7 separate regions of the Homo sapiens genome follow, and regions 2, 3, 4, 5, 6 and 7 are each linked to region 1. Evidence: promoter capture Hi-C in 16 types of primary human blood cells and fetal thymus (Javierre and others, 2016). All regions are on one chromosome and are shown on one strand. The core of a region is centred on a gene start or on the middle of the fragment in contact, and the rest is flanking DNA. Distances in the headings are between cores, read along the strand shown. Region 1 holds the start of DUOXA1 (dual oxidase maturation factor 1). Region 2 has its middle 79 kb from the start of TERB2. Region 3 has its middle 26 kb from the start of GATM. Region 4 has its middle 47 kb from the start of SLC28A2-AS1. Region 5 has its middle 13 kb from the start of TERB2. Region 6 has its middle 31 kb from the start of SLC28A2-AS1. Region 7 overlaps TERB2 (telomere repeat binding bouquet formation protein 2).

Evidence for each region. Contacts are between HindIII fragments. The CHiCAGO score rates a contact against its expected background, and 5 or more counts as called.
Region 2: a contact is called between a fragment that was not itself captured here and the fragment with the promoter of DUOXA1 in region 1, in 1 of 17 cell types (neutrophils). The highest score is 5.1, in neutrophils.
Region 3: a contact is called between a fragment that was not itself captured here and the fragment with the promoter of DUOXA1 in region 1, in 4 of 17 cell types (naive B cells, total B cells, M1 macrophages and 1 more). The highest score is 6.5, in naive B cells.
Region 4: a fragment that was not itself captured here is called in contact with the fragment with the promoter of DUOXA1 in region 1 in 2 of 17 cell types (naive B cells and activated CD4 T cells); the score reaches 5.6 in naive B cells.
Region 5: a contact is called between a fragment that was not itself captured here and the fragment with the promoter of DUOXA1 in region 1, in 1 of 17 cell types (neutrophils). The highest score is 5.0, in neutrophils.
Region 6: a fragment that was not itself captured here is called in contact with the fragment with the promoter of DUOXA1 in region 1 in 1 of 17 cell types (M2 macrophages); the score reaches 5.5 in M2 macrophages.
Region 7: a contact is called between a fragment that was not itself captured here and the fragment with the promoter of DUOXA1 in region 1, in 1 of 17 cell types (naive B cells). The highest score is 5.3, in naive B cells.

Annotation. Positions count from the first base shown.
Region 1 is chr15:45,127,987-45,131,560 of GRCh38, forward strand. It overlaps DUOXA1 (dual oxidase maturation factor 1), which reads right to left and starts at 1,893. Exons shown (of 9, transcript NM_001276266.2): 1 at 1,866-1,893; 2 at 1,474-1,629; 3 at 1,032-1,148. DUOX1 (dual oxidase 1) reads left to right here and starts at 2,008. Exons shown (of 34, transcript NM_175940.3): 1 at 2,008-2,112. The HindIII fragment of the contact is 6,225 bases long and covers 1-2,430 here.
Region 2 is chr15:44,875,971-44,879,544 of GRCh38, forward strand. It overlaps the pseudogene SORD2P. Among named protein-coding and RNA genes, the nearest start is that of TERB2, 79 kb to the right of the region's middle. The HindIII fragment of the contact is 7,075 bases long and covers 1-3,574 here.
Region 3 is chr15:45,350,523-45,354,096 of GRCh38, forward strand. No RefSeq gene overlaps it. Among named protein-coding and RNA genes, the nearest start is that of GATM, 26 kb to the right of the region's middle. The HindIII fragment of the contact is 245 bases long and covers 1,765-2,009 here.
Region 4 is chr15:45,324,621-45,328,194 of GRCh38, forward strand. No RefSeq gene overlaps it. Among named protein-coding and RNA genes, the nearest start is that of SLC28A2-AS1, 47 kb to the left of the region's middle. RefSeq lists an enhancer at 1,642-2,572. The HindIII fragment of the contact is 2,053 bases long and covers 739-2,791 here.
Region 5 is chr15:44,941,992-44,945,565 of GRCh38, forward strand. No RefSeq gene overlaps it. Among named protein-coding and RNA genes, the nearest start is that of TERB2, 13 kb to the right of the region's middle. The HindIII fragment of the contact is 6,507 bases long and covers 1-3,574 here.
Region 6 is chr15:45,308,456-45,312,029 of GRCh38, forward strand. No RefSeq gene overlaps it. Among named protein-coding and RNA genes, the nearest start is that of SLC28A2-AS1, 31 kb to the left of the region's middle. The HindIII fragment of the contact is 1,802 bases long and covers 770-2,571 here.
Region 7 is chr15:44,966,501-44,970,074 of GRCh38, forward strand. All of the region lies in intron 5 of TERB2 (telomere repeat binding bouquet formation protein 2), which reads left to right. It also overlaps the pseudogene LOC100187725. Among named protein-coding and RNA genes, the nearest start is that of TERB2, 12 kb to the left of the region's middle. The HindIII fragment of the contact is 5,681 bases long and covers 1-3,574 here.

The DNA of each region.
Region 1 (3,574 bases), core at 643-3,142:
ATGCTTTCTCATGGGGTGGGGGGAGTTTCCCACACTTTAGGGTCCTCCTTTCTCACCTGGCCTAGGGAGGAGGAGGCAGCATCCTCCCTTTCCAGGCTCCCTTATGTACTGAAGACTTTCCTTATGCTCAATCTTATTATAGACACAATTACCCAATCCTTACCTACCACAGGTTGAAGTGGAGTTCCTATGTGTGTATGAGAGGTGGGTAAAACATAAAGTTACAATCTTTAAGAAAATTCAGCCTAGAACAACCTCCAGCCTTCTTCATTCAAAGTTATGTGCTAACGTCTTGTGGCCTCTCTTGTAGCCTGACAGGACTTTTTTCCTGAAGTCTTCCCCCTTGCCCACCTCCCCCATCTGCTGGAAACTATAGAGTAAGGGCCACTAATTCTCCACAAGTGGGGAGTGGGTGACATGGCTGGAGTTGCCAAGACCTCTGATTGGTAATGCACAGCTACTGCAATGTGATGCTTTTTTCTCTGATTGGGGTAGACCCCATTAAACGTTTACAGCTGTGGCTAGCTAAGGGGACCCTGTCAGGAACTCCTGTGCTAGACTTTCCTCTTCAAGGAAGGGGTCTGTGTGTACGTGTGTATCTGTGTATGAATGTATATGTGTGTTGTTGCACAAAAATAGGAGTTAAGTGGAGAAATTGAACAAGATCTGAAAAGTGGATTGGAGGCAGGATTCCCCAGTAAGGGCTGATGTGGATAAGGAATTCAAGGGTGCAGAATCATGCAAGCCAAAGTATCCAGACTCGAGTTAAACTGGGATGGCGATTCGATGTCTATAAACCTTGTGGCATTTATGGCCTTAAGAGGTTTTCCTTGCCTCCCCAGTTTCTTACCAAACTCTCTCTTTGAAGAACTCCCACTTGATCCGAACTTGGTCTGGATGAAAGCAGGAAGTGCAGCCCTAGGTGCCAGGGCGGGAGCAAGCACTTCAAGACCCCCTCCAAAATCACCTGGACCGCACAGATCTAAGCAGCCGCATCCCCCACCACCCACACCCGGACCACTATTCCCTACCTTCCCCTCTTCCAAACAGTGCGTGTGTGGCAGCCTGCGCCTCTCGCCTTCCCCCGTGGAACCTCACACGAAGCGCCCCCGGGGGTGTGATTAAAGAGGGAACCAGGTCCCGACGTTCTGTGAACAAACGCGCGCCCTTACTCTCAGTGGGGCTCCCGTCCGACCCCCACTCCTCTCCTAACTCACGTAAGGACCCGGCTGTGACCGGACAAACCGGGTCTGGGGTGCTTCCAGTCACTCTTCAAGTCACTCCCAAACTTCTCAGACTGCACCCGAGGCTCTGCGGCGCCGCCTCCCTCTCCCGGCCTGGTACAGAGAAGGGCTGGGTGCGCCAGGACAGTAGTACCGGGGTCTGCCAGCTCCGCAGAGGTCCCTCCAATCCCCCCTCCTCCTCTGCGCCCCCCCACCCATGCCCAGCAATCCCAGCAGCTCCAGCGCAAACCTAGCGACGCAGTTCCGGGTCTGGCGGGGCGCGGGCGCGGCTCGCAGGGCGGTGGGACCCCCAAGACCTCACGAGGATCCCCGGAGGGAGACGTGACTCCGGGGTCTTAGAGGGGTTTAGGTCGGATGGGTGACTTGCTTTGACGCCTGGCCTGGTCTGTGGGTGGCAGGTGATCGATGGCCTTGGACTTGGAGCCCAGACCCGACGGTGTCGAGAGGATCTGAGGAGAGTCTCCCCTCCCCATACCCTCTCCGCCTCCCACCCTCTCCCCAGCCCCATGGGACTTGTGAAGGCGGACTTGCTTTTTTCGCCGTCCACACAACCGCACTAGCCGGGCCTTCGGCACCGACGGAACATCTCTACCTGCGCCCCGGGAGCCCTCGCCGTCTCACCTCGCGCGCTGCCGTCCGCTGGAAGCACCTCCGCGCCTCCCCAGGCGCCAGACTCCATCCCGCCCCACTGCGCCCCGCCCCGTGGCTGAGCCGAGCCGGGCCGTGCCTTCCCCTCCTCACCCCCAGCCCCGCCCGTCCCGGCGCAGAGCTGCAGAGGCACCGGACGAGAGAGGGCTCCGCGGGCCCAGCTGGCAGCCAGGCCGGAGACAAGTTGCAGTCCCGGGCTCTGGTGACGCCGTGGCCGCAGGTCAGATTTGGGAGGGCTTTTCCCGGCCCGCGGGCCTGGGCGCTCCGGGGGAGGGAGCTCCAAGGGCAGGGTGGCGGGGGAGCCGCAGCTCCTCCACGTTATGGAAGAAAGGGGAATGCTAGCCCCCTGCGCCTCCGATCTTATCCTAAGGCTAAAACCGGTCCTGTTAGGGCCTGTCCTCTGCCCAATCAAGGTTTTGAGAGACTGGGTTCTTTGGGACCTGGGAATGTTGGGTGGCCTAGTTTGCCTGGGCCTGCGGGTTCTTCTCCTGGCACCAGCACAACATACCAGGGAGGGAGCTTTGGGCTTTAGGATCCAAGCTTTCCCCCTCAGCCCTCCCTTAGGACCAAGATGGCCTTGACCCATCTTCCTCCCACCTCAGGGCCACCAGGGTCACCACTCTAGGGCTTCAGGCTGGAAAAGCAGCCATGTGGGGCAAGAACAGGCAGGCCTGTGTTCTCTCTCTGGTTCTGCCGCTGGCTCTGCCTGGGGCTTCACTGCCCTGTCCTGGGCAACCTTCCTGTCAAGGTTGTTGAGAAGTTACTGCCCCATCGTTGTGTAAATCATTAAGGGCAACCCACCCACAAGGAGTGGTTATTAAGCATGTCCACCTTCCTCTTCAGGTCATCCCCACACAGCCTGGTCTGAAAGCCCATTTCATGCCCTTAGGGGCTGAGTGGTACATTAGCGTTGAGGCCCAGGATCCTGAAGACATGGTGGTGGCGGGGGAGGGGAATGACATCTTGGGATCAGGGAAGGACCGCTGTGGCTACTTCCGTATATCCAGCTTTACAGCTTCAACCATCCAGAGCCCAGCTCTTCATGCACTATTAAAGGCCAGCACCTGGACAGACTCTGTGAAATGCAGCAGGTGATACTGAGCTTTCCAGTTATGGCAGGGCCTAGGTTTTTTCATTTAATAGGAGATGGAGTAGGGATGAGGTCACTCCCTGGGTTCTCTCCTCTAGACAACCCATCCAGGAACCCTGATGTTTGGCTGGGGATGAGGCTTTCCCTGAGCTCCTTTCTTCCTCTATCCTAACCCCAATCTCCAGGTTGCCTTCAGGAGGTCTTCGCCGGCTTTAGGTACTCCTTACTCGCACTCAGGAGTCCCAGCCTGAGTCCTCTGCTGCCTCTGTTTCCCTGTTGACTCTGGGTGGAGAGAGAGAGAGCAGGAAGCTTGCACTAAATACATGAGCACCTGGTAGTGCATCCCTTCTGGATCCAACCAGAGGAGACAAGCTCCCGCCTACCCTCTCTATATCACATTTGCCCAACACCTGTCACTTGCTTTGAATTAAACCTCCTTCTCACATTTGATTCTGGCAACCATGCTTAGAAGTAAACAGTTCAGGCATATTTGCTCCCATAGCTGGAAGAGGAAAACAAGGATCAGATTGGAGAAGTGATTTATCTAAGATCCCACAGTGGACTGGGAGCAGCACTGAGACCTCAGCCTAGT
Region 2 (3,574 bases), core at 780-3,279, 250 kb before region 1:
GTGAGTGTTACAGCTCTTAAAGGTGACACCAACCCAAAGAATGAGCACTAGCAAGGCTTATTTTGAAGAGCAAAAGAACAAAGCCTCCACAGCATGGAAGGGGATCCGAGCAGCTTGCTGCTGCTGGCTGGGTGTGGCCAGCTTTTATTCCCTTATTTGTCCCCTCCTATGTTCCATTTCTATCCTATCAGAAACCCTTTTTTCAATCCTCCCTGTGATTGGCTACTTTGAGGATCCTGCTGATTGGTGCATTTTACAAAGCACTGATGGGGCATTTTACAATCCCCTTGCTAGCTACAGAATGCTGATTGGTGTTTTTTTACAGAGCACTGATTGGTGCATTTTACAATCCTCTTGTAAGATAGAAAAGTTCTTTAAGTCCCCATTTGGCCCAGGAAGTCCAGCTGGCTCCACCTCTCACCAGCACTTTGGGAGGCCAAGGCAGGCATATCACCTGAGGTCAGGATTTTGAGACCAGCCTTGCCAACGTGGCAAAGCCCTGTCTCTACTAAAAATACAAAAATTAGCCGGGCATGGTGGTGGGCACCTGTAATCCCAGCTACTTGGGAGGCTGAGGCATGAGAATCTCTTGAACCCAGAAGGCAGAGGTTGCAGTAAGCCAATATCATGCCACCGCACTCCAGCCTGGGTAACAGAGTGAGACTCTGTCTCAAAAAAACAGAAAACAAAAAAACTAAGTTCCCCACAAAGTTATTTCAGACTTTGCCCAGGAATGAACAAGGACAGCTTGGAGGTTAGAAGCAAGACGGACTTGGTTAGGTTGGATCTCTTTTACTGTCTCAGTTATGTTTTTGCAATGGCGTTTTCAATCCCTTCCTTTGGGTTTTATAACACCTTAATCTTAAGGTGTTGGCTAATGAAGATGGAGAAAGGGCAAAGACCACTCTAACTTCTTCCTGCTGACCAGGGGCATAGTCGGGGTAGGTGTTGACCCCAAGGTGAGAGGACTGGAATCATTTTGCTACTGTCTGAACATACTCACGCAGGATGGCTGAAAAATGTGTTAGTATTGTCATCTATAATTTTAGTATTGCATTTAAGGGAACAGCACACTACAAAGTAAATAATGAGTTCTAGCATAAGGCATGCAATTCCAACTTTTAAAAGTAAAGATTTGAAAACATTAATTTGGAGACTTGTAGTCCATGAATAATTTAGGATTTAGTCCAAACTGCAGAAAAAACTCAAGAACAACTAACAATGATTGTTTTTTATTTTTGGAGCATAATTTTTCTGTCTCCAGTCCCCATTTTTTAATTAAAAATAAATCACAGTAGGTCAACTTTACTTGCAAAATAAGTTTTAGTCTTATTATGCTCTGCCTGATTACTTGCATAAGTGCAGCAACAATAATTATTGTTCACATAGGCTTTTTAAATTGGCTTTGATGGAACTCTGTTCCATAAGGAATCTCAAACAAGACTTTTTTAAAGCCAGGCCAAGCCCATGGGTTTGTACCCTCAAATAACCATGAGTTGGGTCAATTCCTCTCCTCTTGAGGTCCCAAGATAACTTGGGGCTCCTGGGCCTGTTAGAAAGTGACATTCTTTACTCACCACAGATCAGGAACCCTGTACAGGGACTGTGTAGACAAGGCATGAGGCCAGTTTTCCCAAGGGGCTTTGTTTTCTCTGTTTTGTTTTGTTTTTGAGACAGGATCTTGCTCTGTCACCCAGACTGGAGTGCAGTGATGCAATCTCTGCTCACTGCAACTCCATCCCCCAGGCTCAAGCAATCCTCCCACCTCAGCCTCCCAAGTCGCTGGAACTACAGGCATGTGCCACCACACCCAGATAATTTTTGTATTTTAAGTAGAGACGGGGTTTCACCAAGTTGCCCAGGTTGGTCTTGAGCTCCTGAGCTCAAGCTATCTGCCTGCCCCGGTCTCCTAAAGTGCTGGGATTGCAGGCATGAGCCACCATGCCTGGCCTCAAGAGGCTTTTATTCCTTAAAGGCAAGCATACGATTCCAGTCAAAGCCTTGGTAAAATAACCAGTTTCTTCAATTTTGTCCTGTTGCAAATGAAAACATTCTTATTGCACTTATGGAAGTAACTATATTGCCATAAGAATACTCACAAATAGTTACCAAATCCTGGCAAAATCAGGAAGAGAGAATCAAATATGCTCCAAATTTTGTTTACAGATGTGTACTTTACTCAATATTAAAAGCTGTAAATAGCTCAAAAGAAAGGTTTTCTTGGCTCTGAAAAACAAAAAATGATCAGCAATGTTTTAAACAAAAAGTCAAAAAAAGTTGCCTCAGTCTTCTATTAGTTCAGCCCATGCAGTTAACTTCCATTCTGCTTAGTATTCATGAACATTTCAGCTCTCAATGAGAGTCCTGAAAGTTTTTCCTCTATTCTAATGTCACAATCTCCAAAGTTTTCAGAAACCTGCATTTAAGAGCACCTGTCAGAGTGTTATAGCTGATTATAAAACCATTTAAAGAGGATCAAAAGACAATAATTGTCTGTGGATGACAAAAAGTTTTAGGCCAGCCACAGTTAAAGACACAATTGACAAGGAAATTTGTTACTTCTGGGGAACACAATAATTTAACATAGCAATTATAATTATTAATGATAACATATACAAAGTCATATCAGAATTACAGGAGTTTCACATAATTTTGGAACATATATCAATAACACAAAAATCTTTTTCAAAAGAGAAAACCAAATTTCATGTTTGCATTAATGCCTCTTTAATGCTAAAGCTAGTTTTTAAATAAAATGTTATAAATTATCCAGTTTTAATTAGTTTGACCATAAGGTAAGGTTTTTATAAACTTTTTTAGAACACTTTACAATTTTCCATTAAACAGCAGATTAATTTTCTAAGAAAACCCTTTTGTTTAGACACAGGGGCCCAGATTCTGGCCCGGCATTAGTGTGCTTTTATGTTCAACATACAGAAAAAAATTAAATAATCCCCTTCAAAACTTAAGACCAACCCTTCACAAACACTTTTCAACTTGCTTAAACCTTCAGTTTTGTCCTGTTACTCTTTTAGGTTAAGACGATCTTTAAAGCCCTCTGAACTAGACAAAATTACATTCCCTTTGACAAAAGCCATATTCCCTTACCTTATTTAATCCTTTAGCTAAAGCACATTCTACTTTCCTTACACATCTTGCATGTAAAACAATTTCTCCAGCAGTCTCAATTACACGTTACAACGTTAACACTTAGCAACTTTTGTTTTTGATGAAAACCCTGATAAATAAGTGGTTTTAATTATGTACTAAGTGTGGAGCCTAGGACATCAGACAGAAATGCAGATAAGGTCTGCCTCCAGCATAGCTAGGGGGCATGGCTAATTCCACATGTCCCCAGACCTTAGCTAGAATTTCTAATGGCTCCAAAGTAGGTAAGTCTAACAATTTTCGAAAGTCAAAGAAACAGTTTATGACTTTAAAGCATTTAGCAAACCTAACATCTGACCTTATTTAGACCAAACATCTAAATTGTGAAGACATTTTTTATTTACCAGTGATCTTTAAAACTGTTTTTATTTCCAAAAGATCACTGAAATTATGTGAACAAACAGGC
Region 3 (3,574 bases), core at 637-3,136, 220 kb after region 1:
ACAAAATTACATGGGAAATTTTACTTCGCTTTGTAAAAGGCTTCAGACATTATCTTCAGTGTGATTGCAAATAATAAATTCCAATTTAAGGAGATACCTGGGGTAAGCCTGTGCTTTCTTATACCAAATCAAAAATTTTTTTCTCCATTTCACTGAGGTTCTGTAGTAGGCAATGCTGTCTTAGCATGTTTTGAATTATTATAGCATAGTACTAGAAAATAATAAAACTGCCTTTTCTATAAAAATATCCTATCAGTCTGATTTTTAAATAAGTGAGAAAAATTTCTCTCCTTAGGTATGGTTTGGAGAAATTTTAAATGGTTGATACCTTCCTAAGCACTCCTTAAAAAAAGAAAACCAATTCAATCAGCTTTTCAATATTTTCCACTGAATTACCCCTAATAGCAGAGGACAGCAAACACATACTCTGGAGAATATGGGGTGTGGCCAAAGTGGCCAAGGAAATCACAAAATTTCTTTGAAGTCTCCTTTTTAAATATTAAAATTCATATGAATTTTTCATTTTATACCATACTAATGCAAAGTGTAAAATACACATTAAAATATGTTTTAAATTATCATTCAGAGGGAAAAGTGTTCTACTTGTCTCACTGGTTCAATGAAGAAGCTGCTTTTCATCGATTCTGTCCATGTCAGAAAACTGGGCTGAACTGAAAGCAGCTAACACCAGATTCATCATTTAGGCAATCTGTCTTCTCTGTCTTGGAGAAGTTTTGAACTCAGTGACTCTAGAACCCAGACCTACAAAAACATATTGATAAAATTGCAACAGTTTTTCACTGCTTTATGTGCGATGAAAGGGTAAAACTAGGAAATATTCTTAGAACGCTGCTGGAGAGAAAGTTATGGTGCAATATTTTCAGGTTCCTGTGAAAGAAAATTTCAATAGTTGCATCATCCTACTTACAAGCAAAATAACCTACCTCATATGATGGGGTCTCCAGTCTGGTTACCCTCTCACTGTTTCAGGAACATTCATAAGAGCTGGAATGTGGTATCTTTTTTGTCAGCACTTCTTTTAAAATGGTCTGAGACTACTTACTAAATCAGAACTTCTGGGTGCAGGGCACTAGAATCTGCATTTTAGCAAGCCTTCCAGGTTGTTCTGGTGCACATTACATGTTTAAACATTTTCTGGAAGAACATAAAATGAAAGAAATCAATTTCAGTGTAAAAAGAATCAGAAGAAACAATAGAGAAGAAAATTGGGACAATTTTATGACTTTCTCCAGCAATGATTATCTGATCAGGCAGAGAGTAAGTTCTTGCTGAGGGTTGTAGCGGACAAGTTAATTTCCTTCCCAGCATCCATTTCCCCCTTCTCCCTCCCAAAAGAATGTCATTTTCTTCATCCCTCTTTCCTGCATCAACGTGCCCCAAGTGAATGCCACCCTCCCAATTCCAAAGGTAGTTCGGATAAATCCCATCCTAAATGCCAATGACTGGTCAGGAATGGGCAGATGACCCAAGGGGCCAACAAAATATGATAGGAGTCCTGTTAAGGGGATTCTAGGGAAAGTTTCTGCTTCTATGAAAGAGCTACACAGAAAAAAGTAACACTAGGTTATGATCCCAGGAACTGCTGCCTTCATCTTGCTGTCAGCCTAAGGATAAGCCAACAATGAGGGAGGCTTTCCATCCAGAAAGATGGAAAAAAACTTGGTCATAAGGTAGTTGAATTTCCTTACTGCTAAACTTCCTATTGTGTGCAATAAGTTTTCTTGTTTAACCTACTTTAAGTAAAGCTTCCATTACGTGCAACCAAAAGGAACCCAAATCATGTGGGGGTTATTCAGGGTTGATGTTTTAAAAATGAAAATTTGAATATGGCGTGGCAAAGTGGGTGTGACCACAGAAGGAAATGACAACCAGGCTTGAATGGAAGTTTACTGTACTCACAGGCCCAGAGAGGGGTCACCACATACCACACAGGTCCACAAGGGAATCGTCAAGTTTTGGTCATGTGGCGGAAGACAGGAGCTGGGGGAAGCTTAGACGTGAGTCTTTGTTGAGGTTTCCTTGGGAAAGGCAAGGCAGAGCAGAGAAAGCAGCTTGGGATTGACTAGTTTGAATAATTCTGACCAGCTCTGGGCTATAGGAGTGGTCTGCAGTTGCCTGATTTAGAGCAGGGGAAATATTGGTTTGGTGTCTGAGAGATCGATAAGGAGATGGCAGGGCTATCGACTTGGGATTGGTTGGTTTGTATATGAAAAATGTGCTCCTAGCCAAGCCCTTTGCTATCTCTAAGAATTAGCAAGACCTGAAAGGGGCAGTCTTTCTCTGGCCAGCAAGATGTCAAAACATCATGAAATACAGAAAATAAAAAACACAATTAATACAACTGGATATCTTCAAAACAAATAATGGCAGTTAAAAGCATAAGATTCCAGAGTGTTAGTAAGGGTTCTTCAACTGTAAAAAGAGTCCATTTAAACCAAAGGAGTAGAGTTCTAGGGAGACATGATTGTCTGAGAAGCACATTTATCAGAGCTAACCAAGCAAAAAGGGGAGGTGAGAGATGAAGACAGGGAAGATCAGAGGCATTTCCGGCAAAGGGAAAATGTGTAAAATCCCTGGGGCAGAAGAGAGCATGGCTCTGGGGTAGCCAGAGTGGAGGGAAGCCAGGGAAAGTGGCAGTGAGACAGGCTGGAGGTGGGCGGACGCAAGGCCATGTGGGGCCCTGTAGTCCATTGTAAGGATTTGGGACTTTGTTTTAGAGAAAAATGAGAATTCCACTGAGAGACTTTGCGGAGATGGGGAGAAGAGGGGACCAGATTTCCGTACTGAGAGGTCAGTCTGGCTGCTGAGGCTTGAGGAAGCTGTGGCAATGGTTCAGGTGAGAGATATTGGTAGCTTGGACTAGAATGGAGGCAGCGAGGATGAAAAAAATAAGTAGGTTGTTGATTAATTTGTTCTAAGCTGAAGGTGTACATTTGGCAGATTTCCTATAGATCATAATGAAATCATGGGTAGTAAAGTGAGGGAAGGATCTAGTGAAGAATGAGAAAGAAATAGGGCCTTGAAAAGAGTCCTAAGGAAGCCGAAGACTTTCGAGTCCTTTAGACTCCAGGGCTTGGTAAACTTATCCTGTAAAGGATCAGATAGTAAATATTTTAGGCTTTGTAGCCAAGAATCAGAATCAAGATATTATGTGGGTACTTATATAACAGAGAGGAAAAAGAAGCCATAAAGCTGTTATCGACAAAATTCAAAATATAATAAAAATTGAGGACAACCTTTTTATAATATAGTTCTACCAATGAGAAAAATGAAATTTTCTTTTGGGGGAATGATAGTTTTGCTTAATTGGCGTTCACTGTTAGTGTTCCCTATTATCAAAATAAATTGTAAATGTTCATCTATTAATGTGATGAGATTTTACATCTTTATATATTTCAAATGTCTTTTCACACAGACACATAATGCCAAATGCTGATATCAATTCAGGAACGTACAATCTTTTTTGTTTTTTTGAGATGGAGTCTCGCTCTATCTCCCAGAGTGCAGTGGCGCGATCTCGGCTCACTGCAAGCTCCGCCTCTTGGGTTCATGC
Region 4 (3,574 bases), core at 515-3,014, 200 kb after region 1:
GATCCTCCCACCCCAGCCTCCCGAGTAGCTGGGACTACAGGCATACGCCACCACACCCAGCTAATTTTTGTATTTTATGTAGAGATGGGGCTTCACCATGCTGCCCAGGCTGGTCTCAAACACCTGGCCTCAAGCGATGCTCCCATCTCAGCCTCCCAAAGTGCTGGGATTACAGGGGTGAGCCACCATGCCCGGCCAGCAACTATGTCTTATAAGAACTTCACAGACAGTTTTAGAGTCCTTCCAAGGGACATATTTGTTACAAGAGACACAGTACTCAGGGAATCTCAAACTAAAACCTCTTAACAGAAATTTATAGTTTAACTAGTTCAGATACAGTTTACCAATCAGGGTCATTTTACCATAAGTAGGTTGTCAAGCAACAAAAGTGACATAGTTTCCTTTCTCCTTCTCCTTCTCCTACTACAACTGACCCTTGAACAACACAGGTTTGAACTGCATGGGTCCACTTATATATGAACTTTTTTCTGCCTTTGCCACCCCTGAGACAGCAAGACTAACCCCTTCTCTCCCTCTTCTTCCTCAGTCTACTGAACACGAAGATGATGAGGTGAAGACCTTTATAATGATCTACTTCCGCTTAATAAAGATATATTTTCTCTTCCTTATGATTTTAATAATGTTTTTCTTTTTTCTAGCTTTCCTCATTGTATAAATATAGTATATAATACATATAACATATAAAATATGCTAATCAACGGTTTATGTTATTGGTAAAGCTTCTCATCAAGTAGTTAAGTTCCTGGGAAGTAAAACATTATACTTAGATTTTCAACTGTGTTGGGAGGTCAGCACCTCTAACCCCCAGCTTGTTCAAGGGGGAACTGTATTACTATGATCTATTTTTTACCCATAGAACATGTCTGACACCAAATATGTGGTGTTTTTTTTTTCCCATGCCAACCTCAAATTCTCCTTCTCTCCAGAAACCAACTGGGTATCCAATAATTCAATTGAATTCAATTCTGACACTAGTTACCTGGTGTTAGTATCAGATGGCACAGTTGAAAGGGCCCAGTCCCACAAGACTGCCCACAAGACTTCAGATGCCAATCACAAGCTGAGCCTCCCATACTTCTGTCTTAATGGCTATAAACTAGGGGTTTCCACAACCCTCTCCTCAGGTTCAATAATTTGCTAGAATGGCTTGTAAAACTCAGGAAATCATTATACTGACATTTAGCAGTTTATTTATAAATGATATTATAAAGGCTACAGATGAACAGGCAGAGGACAAGGTGTGAAACGGGAGATGTGCAGAGCTCCAGTGCCCTCCCTGGGCACCCCACCCTCTCGGTGTAACTGTAGCAGATCCATTGTCCCATGTGCACAGCAAGTCAGTAGGCAGAGACACCAGGGTGCAGCAGAGAAAGAGGTTTAATTGTAGGGTCTCCGAACTAGGAGATGGGAGGAAACCTCAACTCCATCTCCCAAGCAATCTGGGGCTAGAGATTTTGTGGGCTTTTTTTTTTTTTTTGCGATGGAGTTTTGCTTGTGTCGCCCAGGCTGGAGTGCAATGGTGCCATCTCGGCTCATTGCCACCTCTGCCTCCCAGGTTCAAGCAATTCTCCCGCCTCAGCCTCCAGAGTAGCTGGGATTACAGACTCCTGCCACCATGCCCAGCTAATTTTTGTATTTTTAGTAGAGACAGGGGTTTCACCATGTTGGCCAGGCTGGTCTTGAACTCCTAACTTCAGGTGATCCACTCACCTGGACCTCCCAAAGTTTACAGGCGTGAGCCACCGTGCCCGGCCTGGGGCTAGAGATTTTAAGGGTTTTGGAGTGGGCTGAAGTGTGAAGATCATTGATTGGTTGAAGAGTGCAGGGTAAAGTCATGGGACAGAAAGATGAAGAAGCTGTATTCTCATGCTGATTCCATTTCTCTGTGGGGGTCTTCAAACTGGTTGGTTTCAGCTGTTTCACTGGAGTTTGGGATCTGAAAACATCTTAGGCAACCTTCAAACAAAAGCCATATGATTCTAACGGCGGTGATCCTGTCTATAGGAATAATGGGGGTGCAAATGGGCAGTATCTAGTGCTATTGACTTTCAGCAACAAGGAAATGAGCCAAAGTGCAGCCTGATTAAGGCTTAATTATAACGAAATTTCTGCCCAGAACTCAGCATGAAATCCTTGTCAACCCTGTGGGGATGGCTTCATCAGCCGCTCGATGTGTTTTCCAACTCAGAAGCTCTCTGAAGCCCTTTGTTTAGGGTTTTTATGGAGGTTCTATTACATAGGCGTGATTGCTTAAATCATGGGCCATTGGTGATTTACTCAATCCAGCTTTTCTCTCCCTCCCTCGGGGTGAGTAGGGCTGAAAGTTCCAATCCTCTATAATCACATGTTTGGTTCCTCTGGCAACCAGTGCCCATCCTGAAGCTATCTATGGGCTTCCAGCCACCAGTCATCTAATTAACATAATTCATGTACACTCGAAAAGAGCTTGTTGAAAATAACAAAAGATGCTCCTGTCACCTCGATTGCTCAGAAAATTCAAAGAGTTTTTAGAAGCTCTGCGCCTGGAACCAGGGATAAAAACCAGCGATTTTAACAAAAGACGCTCCTGTCACTCCTATCACTCGGGAAGTTACCAGAATTTTAGAATCTCTGTACCAGAAACTGGGGGCCTGAAGACCCAATATGTATTTCTTACTATATCACAGTATCACAGTCCTTATTAGGTTGCCAGTGGAAAAGATGTAGAAAGTTAACCAAAAGTCAAATTTTCATGTAGGAGAGAAAAGGTTTTGCTAACACTTCACCCACAAGCTTCTTTATCAACAAAGTAACTCATCATTGGAACCTGTATGCTCTATTTATATTTTCAGTATACATTAGTTGGCCAAAATTTAGGTATAAAAGTAGGGATAGCAACAAAAAAAGAAATCATTTCTTCACTTCTTTTTTTTTTTTTTTTTTTTTTGAGATGGAGTCTCACTCTGTTGCCCAGGCTGGGGTGCAGTGGTGCAATCTCGGCTCACTGCAACCTCCGCCTCCTGGGTTCAAGCAATTCTCCTGCCTCAGCCTCCCAAGTAGCTGATTACAGGCATGCACCACCACGCCCGGCTAAGTTTTGTATTTTTAGCAGAGATGGCCATGTTGGCCAGGCTGATCTTGAACTCCTGACCTTGTGATCCGCCTGCCTTGGCCTCCCAAAGTGCAGGGATTACAGGCGTGAGCCACCATGCCTGGCCGAGAAATCACTTCCGTACCAGAGCAGTTTAAATGGATGTGCCTGGCAACCTACTGTAAACCAAAAATAAAACTCTAAGCCCCCTCAACCATCTGAATGGACCCCTCTTCTTGGCCAAGGGCATTCCAAAGTTGACCTGAGAAACTATTCCGGCCATAATGGGAAATGGGTGTTGAACATGCCTCATCCTACCCTCCTCCCTTTTGGAATTACTGATAGAATGGACTCTTTAAGTCTGATAAGAAACATTTACAATCTATTCTCTCTGAAGCCTGCTACCTGGAGGCTTCACCTACATGATAAAGCCTTGGTCTCCACAACCCCTTATCTTAACCCAGATATTTCTTTCTATTGATT
Region 5 (3,574 bases), core at 495-2,994, 190 kb before region 1:
AAACTAACATTAAAATATTTACAGTTAACTTGTTGCTCTAAAAATAAAACTTCTTAACTGTTTGCCTCAATTTATTTTTAAAATTCACTTACGTACATGGAATGTGCTTTTACTCTTCTTAAAAAAGCAGTTTTCGTATCACACCCTTGTTTACAGAAAAGCTACATGTGCTTCATGCTGACTTTGACACTTAAGTAGCTTCTTGGATCAAAATGGCTTCTAGATACTAAATGCCACTTAATTCAGCACTATTCTTTGTTGGTCTGTATAAGTAACACTTTAAAACTTGCAGCTCTGGAAAGAGAGAGAACTTTACTAACAAAGTAGAAAGTGATTTCAAACTATCTTCCACAAAAGATTGTACTGGTAGGCGGTTGAAAACATTCTATTCGATCCACTTTCAAATTTCTAGAGAAAATCATTTTGGAATACTACTGTACTGATTCTTGGCCTTCGTTGTCTCTAAAAGTGCTGATTTTAACATTATCTTAAAACTGTCCAGTTTGAATTGAGCTTGTTTTCATCAATATACACATTGAAAATTCCTGGTGTAGAAAACTCAACATGTGCTGAATACGGGGTGTACTTCCCTTCAACTACCTAAAAGGCTGAACTTTTGTTAAATCTTAAAGAAATGGTCCCAACAGCTTAACTTCATTTTTTTAATGATAGTTGAATGTGTTTTCCATAAAAATTTACTTTAAAACGAGGCAACTGATTAAAACAACAACATGGCCATCACCATTATACAAGTAATGTTATTGAGTTTACAACTGAAGTTCTGTAAAATTGTTTCTAGATCGATACCCCGAGGAGCAACCCTGCATTATTATATCAACCTTTTCCCTTCCCCTAAACCGTCTCAAAAAACCCCTGGATTAGCACACTGAGCTAAGCCTCTGTCACAAAAAAAAAAAAAAAAAAAAAAAAAAGAAGGGGGAGGTGAAGAAAGAAGATACCAGCAAGATGCAGGAACAATATGCCTGGTGTACTAATACTTGTGTGAAAATATATTTTTAAATACTATTTAAACCTAGATGCTGAGTGTGCAGACACTCTCAGAAAAGATACACAGGAATGCAGTCACACTGGTTGTCTCTTGGGAGGGGAGCTGGGGCTGGGAGGAGGAAGGGATAAGAGAGAGATTTACTCTTCACTCTAGGTCCTTTGCATCTTTGAATGTTGTACTCTGTGCATGTACTATCTATTCAAAAACAAACACAGATAGTCCCCAGCTTACGATGGTTTGACTTAATATTTTTTGACTTCACAATGGTGCAAAAGTGATAACCATTCAATAGGAACTGTACTTCAAGTACCCGTACAACCATACTGATTTCTACTTTCAGTATTCTATAAGTTACGGGAAATATTCAACACTTGATTATAAAAGAAGGTTTGTGTTGGATGATTTTGCCCAGCTGTAGGCTGATCTAAGTGTTCTGAGCATGTTTAAGGTAGGTTAGGCTAAGCTACGATGTTCAGTAGGTTGGGTGTATTAAATGCATTTGCAACACGATATTTTCCATCTACGGTGGGTTTATTGAGATGTAACTCCATCATAAATTGAGAGCATCTGTACAATACACACAACGGGACATGATTCTGCCTTAAGAGGAATAAAATTCTGATACAGCCGACAACATGGATGAACCTTGAAAACATTATGCTAAGTGGAATAAGGCAGACACAGAAAGACAAAACCGTATGATACCGCTTTCACGAGGTACCTAGAATAAGCAAATTCACAGAGACAAAAAGCAGAATAATGGTTACTAGAGGCTGGGGAGTCACTGTTTAATGGGTACAGAGTTTGTCTGGGATGATGGAAAAGTTCTGGAAATGGATAATGGTGATGGTTGTACAGCATTGTGAATGCACTTTAGTGGCACTGAACTGTACACTTAAAAGTGGTTAAATGGTAAGTTTTATGTTACAAACATTTTACCACAATAAAAAAACAAGTATAGGCTGGGCACAGTGGCTCATGCCTGTAATCCCAGCACTTTGGGAAGCCAAGATGGGCGGACCACTTGGGGCCAGGAGTTTGAGACCAGCCTGGGCAATATGGTGAAACCCCATCTCTACTAAAAACACAAAAATGAGCCAGGCGCCAGTTAAAAAAAAAAGAAAAAAAAGCAATACATGCATTATATTTTAAATTGACATTAAATGTGAATATCTGTAATATTGACTTACCTATCACCTGTTTCCTTTTCTGTTAACAGTATCTTGCATTTTTTCTTTCTTTCCTTCTTTCTTTCTCTTTTTTTCTTTCTTTCTTTCTTTTCTTTTCTTTTTTTTTTTTTTCAGAAAACACATTATCCATCCCAATCCACACCATAAAATTAGTCACATAACTCAGGCCTGGTAAATCACTGTGCTTCATCCCATATAAGAGATAAATGGTAAAAGACAGTAAAGTGCTGGGCACATTGGCTTACGCCTGTAACCCCAGCACTTTGGGAGGCTGAGGTGGGTGGATCGCTTGAGCTCAGTTTGAGACGAGCCTGGGCAACATGGAAAATCTCATCTCTACAAAAATAATGAAAATTAGCCAGGCGTGGTGCATGCCTGTAGTTCCAGCTATTTGGGAGGCTAAGGTGGGGGGATTGCTTGAGCCCAGGAGATTGAGGCTGCAGTGAGCCAAGATTGTGTCACTGTACTCCAGCCTGGGTGACAGAGCAAGACCTTGTCTCAAAAAAAAAAAAAAAAAAAAAGAAAAGAGAAAAGAAAAAAAATTGAAACCCAATCCAGACAAATCTGAAAATGTTCATTTTTCAGGGGTCATTCATCTTCACTTTTTTACAAGCCAGTTTGAATTGCTTTCAGTAATTCATAAAAGAAACAGCCCTTATTTATGAAAATAATGGAAATTATGAAAATTAAGAGATATGTGATAGATAGTGGGATAGGAAGGGAAGACAAGATGCTTTTCATTTAATATCATTTTACAACTTAAAATTTTTATTGTTATCTATTTATTTTTCAATAAAGAAATAAGGTCAGCATAGTGGCTCATGCCTGTAATCCCAGAAGTTTGGGAGGCCAAGGCGGGTGGATCACTTGAGGTCAGGAGTTCGAGACCAGCCTGGCCAACATGAGGAAACCCTGTCTCTACTAATAATACAAAAAAAAAAAAATTAGCTGGGCATGGTGGCAGGCACCTGTAATCTCAGCTACTCAGGAGGCAGAGGTGGGAGAGTCCCTTGAACTTGGGAAGTGGAGGTTGCAGTGAGCCGAGATCGCACCACTGCACTCCAGCCTGGGTGTCAGAGTGAGACTCTGCCTCAATTTAAAAAAAAAAAGGAAATAAAAAAATCAATGTGACCAATGTAGGTTATTACCTCATGAGGCACTTGCTTAAAGCTGCCAGTCACAAGGGTGATTTAACACTTACCCTCAGCAAGCAAGGTGAGACCCTGTGAAAGGCTAGTTACCCAGCTATGAGAGATGGCAGAGGCTGAGATTACTGAAGCTCTCACTGCTAAGTTTGAATTAGATTAAGACACGAGAAACAATTGAAATATCTGCTACAGGCTGAATGTGTCCCCCTAAAATTCATATGTTAAAG
Region 6 (3,574 bases), core at 421-2,920, 180 kb after region 1:
CTGAGGTAGGAGAATTGCTTGAACCCAGGAGGCAGAGGTTGCAGTAAGCTGAGGTTACACCACTGCACTCCATCCTGGCTGATACAGTGAGACTCCGTCTCAAAAAAAAAAAAAAAAAGAGTTCAGGGTGGAATGTTAATTAAATTGGCCTTTCTCCCCAGGCATTTAGGTTATTGTTTGGATGCCACTGGTCCAGGCTAGAATGGGTTTTGCTCTGATCTACTGTGTAATAGAATGACTTGGCCTGGTTTATTTGGTTTAAATTGGCTCACAATTGGCATTCATTAAGTTAGAAACTGTTGTTAACACAGTGCCCCTAAAGAGAAATAGGAAAATCAGCTTACATTTGTACTGTCTTTTCTGATGTGGGCATTTGAGAGTTAAAGAGAACTGTCCAGGCTCATGCCTGTAATCTTACCACTTTGGGAGGCCAAGGTGGAGGGATTGCTTGAGGCCAGGAGTTTGAGACCAGCCTGAGCATCACAGGGAGACCCCATCTCTACAGAAAATTATAAAATTAGCCAGGCATGGTGGCACACACCTGTGGTCTCAGCTACTCAGGAGGCTGGGAGGTGGGAGGATTGCTTGAGCCCTAGAGGTCGAGGCTGCAGTGAGCCATGTTTGCACCACTACACTCCAGCCTGGGCTGCAGTGATGCCCTATCTTTAGAAAAAATAATAATAATAATAATGGGCTGAGCATCTTCTACATTTTTTGTCGCATTTGTTTGCACTCTATTCATAAGGAGCACACAGTCTCGAGGACAAGAAGCTTCTGGAAAATGCAAGCCCAGTTGTTTTGGTGGATCCTTCTGAATGATTATGCACAGGTAAGATCCTGAGTGTGATTGTGAGGTGGCAGAGAGGAAAACTTCTTCCATTGCAAACAATATCTCTGAAGATAGAGAACATATTTGTCCTATTTTATCCCCAATATAGTGCTTAATAACATATTTACACAGTAAGTGCTGAATGAAGCTGCTCCACCTGGGTTGTTTTCAGTCTCCAGACCTGTGTTGAACTCTCTGGAGGATTTGAAACCCCTCTTCCCGAAGAGCTGCTACATAATTAGCTGTGTGATGGGACGAGGTGCCTCTCTGGACTCAACAGGGCTTAGGACCTCATTTCCGGGGGTGCTAGGAAAAAGACACTTCTCCTTCCTTCTTCCTACACCCCCTTCCATGGAGGTCTTTTGCCACCATCAACACCGTGTTAAGTCAGAATTTAAAACCAACTTAGCCCTCAACATTGATGTTTTCATTTGTAACCTCAAGGTGGAACAGTTGGTTATGTACTGTGCCCATAATCAGCAGTTACCTCAGTCTTTTTCTTTGATTCATGCTTTGCCCTCTCTTTGTGCCCTACCCTTTTGTTTCGACTATATGCTATTTTGAGGGCAAGAATTGTATCTTTTTAAACTTTATATTTCCATACGACTTATTTTTGTCTCTTTTTTTTGTAATAAAAAGTGTATATTTTAAGTAGTATATACATAAACACAGTGAAACGATTACTACAGTCAAGCAAATTAACATATCCATCTCCTCATGTTACCTTTGTGTGTGTGTGTGTTTGCATGTGTGTATTGTGATAGCACTCGAAATCTTCTCTCCATCAATTTAGAACAGTTCTTTACAGCACTGGCAAGGGGAAGGAATGGCCTGGGAGAGCCTTATCTCCCCCCCGCCGGCCACCAATTTTCATAAACTCCGCAACCCCCCTCCAGAATCATAATTAATACATAAACAAAAGTTTGTAATTATAGACAGAAGCATATTTTTGGTCGGGCGCAGTGGCTCACGCCTGTAATCTCAGCACTTTGAGAGGCAGAGGTGGGCGGATGACTTGAGGCCAGGAGTTTGAGACCAGCCTGGCCAACATGGCAAAACCCTGTCTCTACGAAAAATACAACAAACGAACAAACAAAAAGCCCCACGGGTGTGGTGGCATGCATCTGTGGGCCCAGCTACTCTGGAAGCTGAGGCAGAAAAATTGCTTGAACCTGGGAGGAGGAAGCTGCAGTGAACTAAGAATGCACCACTGCACTCCAGCCTGGGCAACAGAGTGAGACCCTGTTTCAAAAAAAAAAAAAAAAAGCATATTTAGAACACACATTATTTACTACGCAGAAGTAGCCTTGAGACAAGTCCTCTAGCTTCCCCTTCCCTCCAGATTGCTACCCCAGTCTCCCTTGTGAAAAACCTGCCACTCCCACTGCTCAAGAAAGTGTTAACAAACTGTTGTTAAAGGACAGGAGCCAATGCCTGGCGAAGGCTGCAGCATTCCTCTGAAAGCTGGGGTAATGTTGTTTTTGTGCTGGTGGCCTGTCCTCTAGATTCGCAGAAGACTCACCCTTATATAACTTGGGGTTCTTGTTTTCCTGATCCAAAGCTCTTTATTTAATAAACTCTTTGGGATAATGATATGTCTGAAGCCCTCTGAAAAGTTCCCTTTGAACTTTTATCTGAAATGATAAGAAAAAAGTCAGGCTGCACCTGGAATTCAGACTTTGTTTCAAGTTCTTTCAAAGCAATGCAGATATGGAATATTTAAACAAACTACAATTCTGGAAAGCTTTTTAAGTGAAAGTTTTGGTTCTTAGCTTTTGGAGGTGTAGTTTGGAAATATCATACCACATTTAAGCCTCAATCTAAATAATAAAATGTGTAAAATAGTTTTCCTATATACTATTTTCCCCAGTTCAAAAGATTTTGTCTTAGTCCAAGCTTTTTTCATAAAAATTATAATTGTTTGATAGTATAGTCAGTTAAAAAACCAAAATATGAGGTTTAAACATTGAAAAGGACGTGGTAAAATTGTCATTATTTGCAAATGACATTATCATATATACCTGGGAAGCCTAAGGGCATCAACTTAAAAGTTATTAGAAATAGGCCAGGCGCAGTGGCTCACGCCTGTAATCCCAGCCCTTTGGGAGGCCGAGGCAGGTGGATCACAAGGTCAGGAGATTGAGACCATCCTAGCTAACACGGTGAAACCCCGTCTCTACTAAAAATACAAAAAAAAAAAAAAAAAAAAAAGAGCCGGGTGTGGTGGCAGGCACCTGTAATCCCAGCTACTCGGGAGGCTGAGGCAGAAGAATCGCTCAAACCCAGGAGGTGGAGGTTACAGTGAGCTGAGATCACACCACTGCACTCCAGCCTGGGTGACAGAGCAAGACTCTATCTCTATTAAAAAAAAAAAAAGAAGTAATAGGAGCATTCACTAAGGCAGTCATTGCAAACAATACATAAAAATTAATAGTATTCTTATATTTCAACCACAACCAGTTCAAAAATATCACAAGTAAAATTTTTTTGATCACAAATCAAAACAACAACAACAAACCCTAACAGGAAGTAAGCAGGACCTAGATGAATAAAAATATAAAACTTAATAGAGGACATAAAAGGATTGATCTCATGTCAAATTGTAATCCCCAGTGTTGGAGGGGGGACCTGGTGGGAGGTGACTGGATCATGGGGATGGGCATCACCCTTGCTGTTCTTGTGATAGTGAGTGAGTTCTCATGAGATCTGGTTGTTTAAAAGTGTGTAGCACCAAAATCAATTGCA
Region 7 (3,574 bases), core at 377-2,876, 160 kb before region 1:
CTATACCAGGTATTTACTATGTAGAATACTATACTATCTCATAGTATAGCACACTATACTGTCTCTGCAGAAAGGAGACAAGGATTTTATGTATGTTATGATAGCAGTTAATAAATTATTTAAAAATTATACGTATCTGTGTGTGAAAACCCCATCATCACACTTATGAACTACAAAAGAATCTTAAAATATATTTTTTACTTGGAAGGAAATACACTACATATTAGCAGTAATTTTATTAGGATGAAAAGTGGTGAGTGATTTCCCATCTTCTTTCCAAATTGCTTTAATATATTACGTTGGTTTAAGAAATTAAATTTGGGCATTGTGCCGCATGCTTGTAATCTCAGCACTTAGGGAGGCTGAAGCCGGATGACTGCTTGAGCCTAGGAATTTGAGACCAGTCTGGGCAGCATAGGGATACCCCACCTCTATAAAAAATTTAAAATACTAGCTGGGCATAGTGGCACATACCTATAGTCCCAGCTATTTGGAGGCTGAGGTGGGAGGATCGCTTGAGCCCAGGAGGTTGAGACCGCAGTGAGCCGTGATCACGCCACTGCACTCTAGCCTGGGTGACAGAACAATACTCTGTCTCAAAGAAAAACAAGAAATTAATTTAAAAAGACAAACAAACATGGCCTTGCCATTGTATTAGGAACAGTTTATAAGAGGCCTTCTCATTGCAGGCTTATACATGATCTAGTCCTAGCTTCATATTTTCCAATTCAGTTGGTTTTCAAATATTCATAGGGAACATTGGTTCTTCAGAAGTCTGTTTTATCCCTCCAAACCTGTGGCCGGAGTCAATCTAAAAGTGGAGGCAGGGGAATCCCCACAACGGAGTGCCCCAAACAGTCCCAAGCTGGGGCCAGTTGGGATTCTAAAGAAAGAACCACTAGCTAGAGTAATCAGTCTAAAGCATTTATTGAGGGAACTTGCAGAGTATCGCACCAATCCTTGCAATGGACAAGATATAAGGGGTGTTCTACCTAGGTATATCCACAGTGAGGGGGTCTGGGTATGGAGTTTATATGAGGGTTTAAGGAATCTGGCTCAGGGCTGAGGCCAGTTTCTTTCAGTGTTTTGAGCAGCAACCTAGATACCTTTATCAGTGCCTGGAAATGTTTAAGGTCCTGGTTTGAGTTCAAGCCTGATGGGAAAACCCTGCACTGGGCTGTCTCACAGAGCAGTCAAAGCCCTCTGTGATTTTTGGTCAGGACACAGAAAGCAAGCCAGGAGTGGAATCAGGGGAGGGGAGGATGGGACTGGGGTACCCTACAGTCTGGTATTTAGCTGCTGTAATATAAATGATCAAATAGTAGTTATCTTTCTTCAAAATAAAAAGTAATGATGTAATTTATATAATTTTTTCAAGTTTTTCTCCCATAAGGGCTAATTTCCTTAATATACAAAGAGGTATTAGAAATCTGGGAAAAATATGTCCAATCCAAAAACAACAGAAATGGACAAAGGATATGAATAAACCCTAGGTAGGTGTCTACTTAGAGCCTTTTCTCTGTGGAAACACCAGAGGGTGCAGTGTGAACACAGATAAAATATACCCTCAATTTACCTGCTGAAGCATTTGTTAGCATAGTACTAGGGACGTTGATTTTTTTTACATCATACAAACTTGATGTATGAAAAATCAGGCAGTACAGAATTAGTATAAAATCCTAATTTCTCCCAAATCCTCTCCCAGTGATAACCTTCATTTTTTGTTTTTAATTGAGACAGAATCTTAGTCTGTTGCCCAGGCTGGAGTGCAGTGGCGTGATCTCGGCTCACTGCAACCTCTGCCTCCTGGGTTCAAGCAATTCTTGTGCCTTGGCCTCCCGAGCAGCTGGGACTACAGGCACATGCCACCCCACCACACCAGCTAATTGTTTGTATTTTTAGTAGAGACGGGGTTTGGCCATGTTGCCCAGGCTGGTCTCAAATTCCTGGCCTCAAGTGATCCACCTGCTTCAGCCTCCCAAAGTTCTGGGATTGCAGGCATAAACCACCCGTGCCTGGCCGAAAAATCTTATTTGATATTATGATGTGTACTGGCAGCATATGGCATTTCATTTTGTTTAACCTTTTTTTTTTTTTTTTTTTTTTTTTTTGAGACAAAAGCTCACTCTGACCCCCAGGGGTGGAGTGCAGTGGCACGATTTCAGTTCACTGCAGCCTCAACCTCCCAGGCTGAAGTGAGAGATCCTCCCTCCTCAGCCACCCAGAATGCTGCTAGGATTACAGGCATGAGCCACCACACCTGGCCTAGAATTTGTTACTTTTATGACACTTCCATGAACATCTTTTTAAAAATAAATCTTGCTCTACTTTTTTGATAGTTTTCTTCATGTAAATTATCGGATGTGGAAATTATGGTATAAAGAGGAGTTTTTTTTCTTTCTTAAACACCTTATTTATTTACTTAGTTTGTGTGTGTGAGAGAGAGAGAGACAGGATCTTGCTGTGTCACCCAAGCTGCAGTGAGGTAGCATGATCATAGCTCACTGCAACCTGGAACTCCCAGGAGTTCAGGCAATCCTCCCACCTCAGCCTCCTGAGTAGCTAGGACCGCAGATGTGGGCCACCACGCCTGGCTAATTAAAAAAATTAATTAGACAGGGTCTCGCTCTGTCACCCAGGCTGGAGTACAGTGGCACAATCTTGGCTCACTATATCCTCTGCAACCTCCACCTCCTGGGTTCAAGCAACTTTCGTGCCTCAGCCTCCTGAGTAGCTGTGACTACAGCTGTGTACCACCCCGTCTAGCCAATTTTTCTTGGTGTTTTTAATAGAAACTTTTTTTTGCCATGTTGGCCAGGCTGGTCTCAAACTCCTGGCCTCAAGCAATCCACCCTCCTAGGCCTCCCAAAGTGCTGGGATTATAGGTGTGCGCCAACTCGCCCAGCCTAATTAAATTTTTTTTTTGTCAAGATGGCATCTCACTATGCTGCTGAGGCTGGTCTTGAACTTCTGGGCCCAAGGTATTTATTAATTAGTATAGTAGCAGGCCAGGCATGGTGGCTCACACCTGTCATCCCAGCACTTTGGAAAGCTGAGCCATGAGGATAGCTTGAGGCCAGGAGTTCAAGACCAGTCTGAGCAACAGAGAGAGAGCCAGTCACTACAAAAGATAAAAAAAAAAAATTAACTGGGTGTAGTGGTGTACTCCTGTAGTCCTAGCTACTTGGGAGGCTGGGGCAGGAGGATTGCTTAAGCCCAGGAGTTGAGGTTTGCAGTGAGCTATCTATGGTCATTCCACTGTGCTTCAACCAAGGTGAAAGAGTGAGGCCATGTATCAAAAAAAAAAAAAAAATTAGTAGCATATATCTGTTTCTTAGAATATGGAGCTGGAGGGTATTCTTTCATATTGGAAATAAACTACATAATATCATACAGTATGTTCAAATGCATATACTAAAGAACTCTACAAAATTTTAATCAAAATCTACGTTTAGTTTGTTAAGTAATTTCTTGAGAGAACCACTGAGAGACAGTGTCCTTGTGATCAAATGATGAGTCTCTTCAGAGTTAAGTCTTATAAAGGAAATTTTTATTATGTTGATCCAAGTAATGC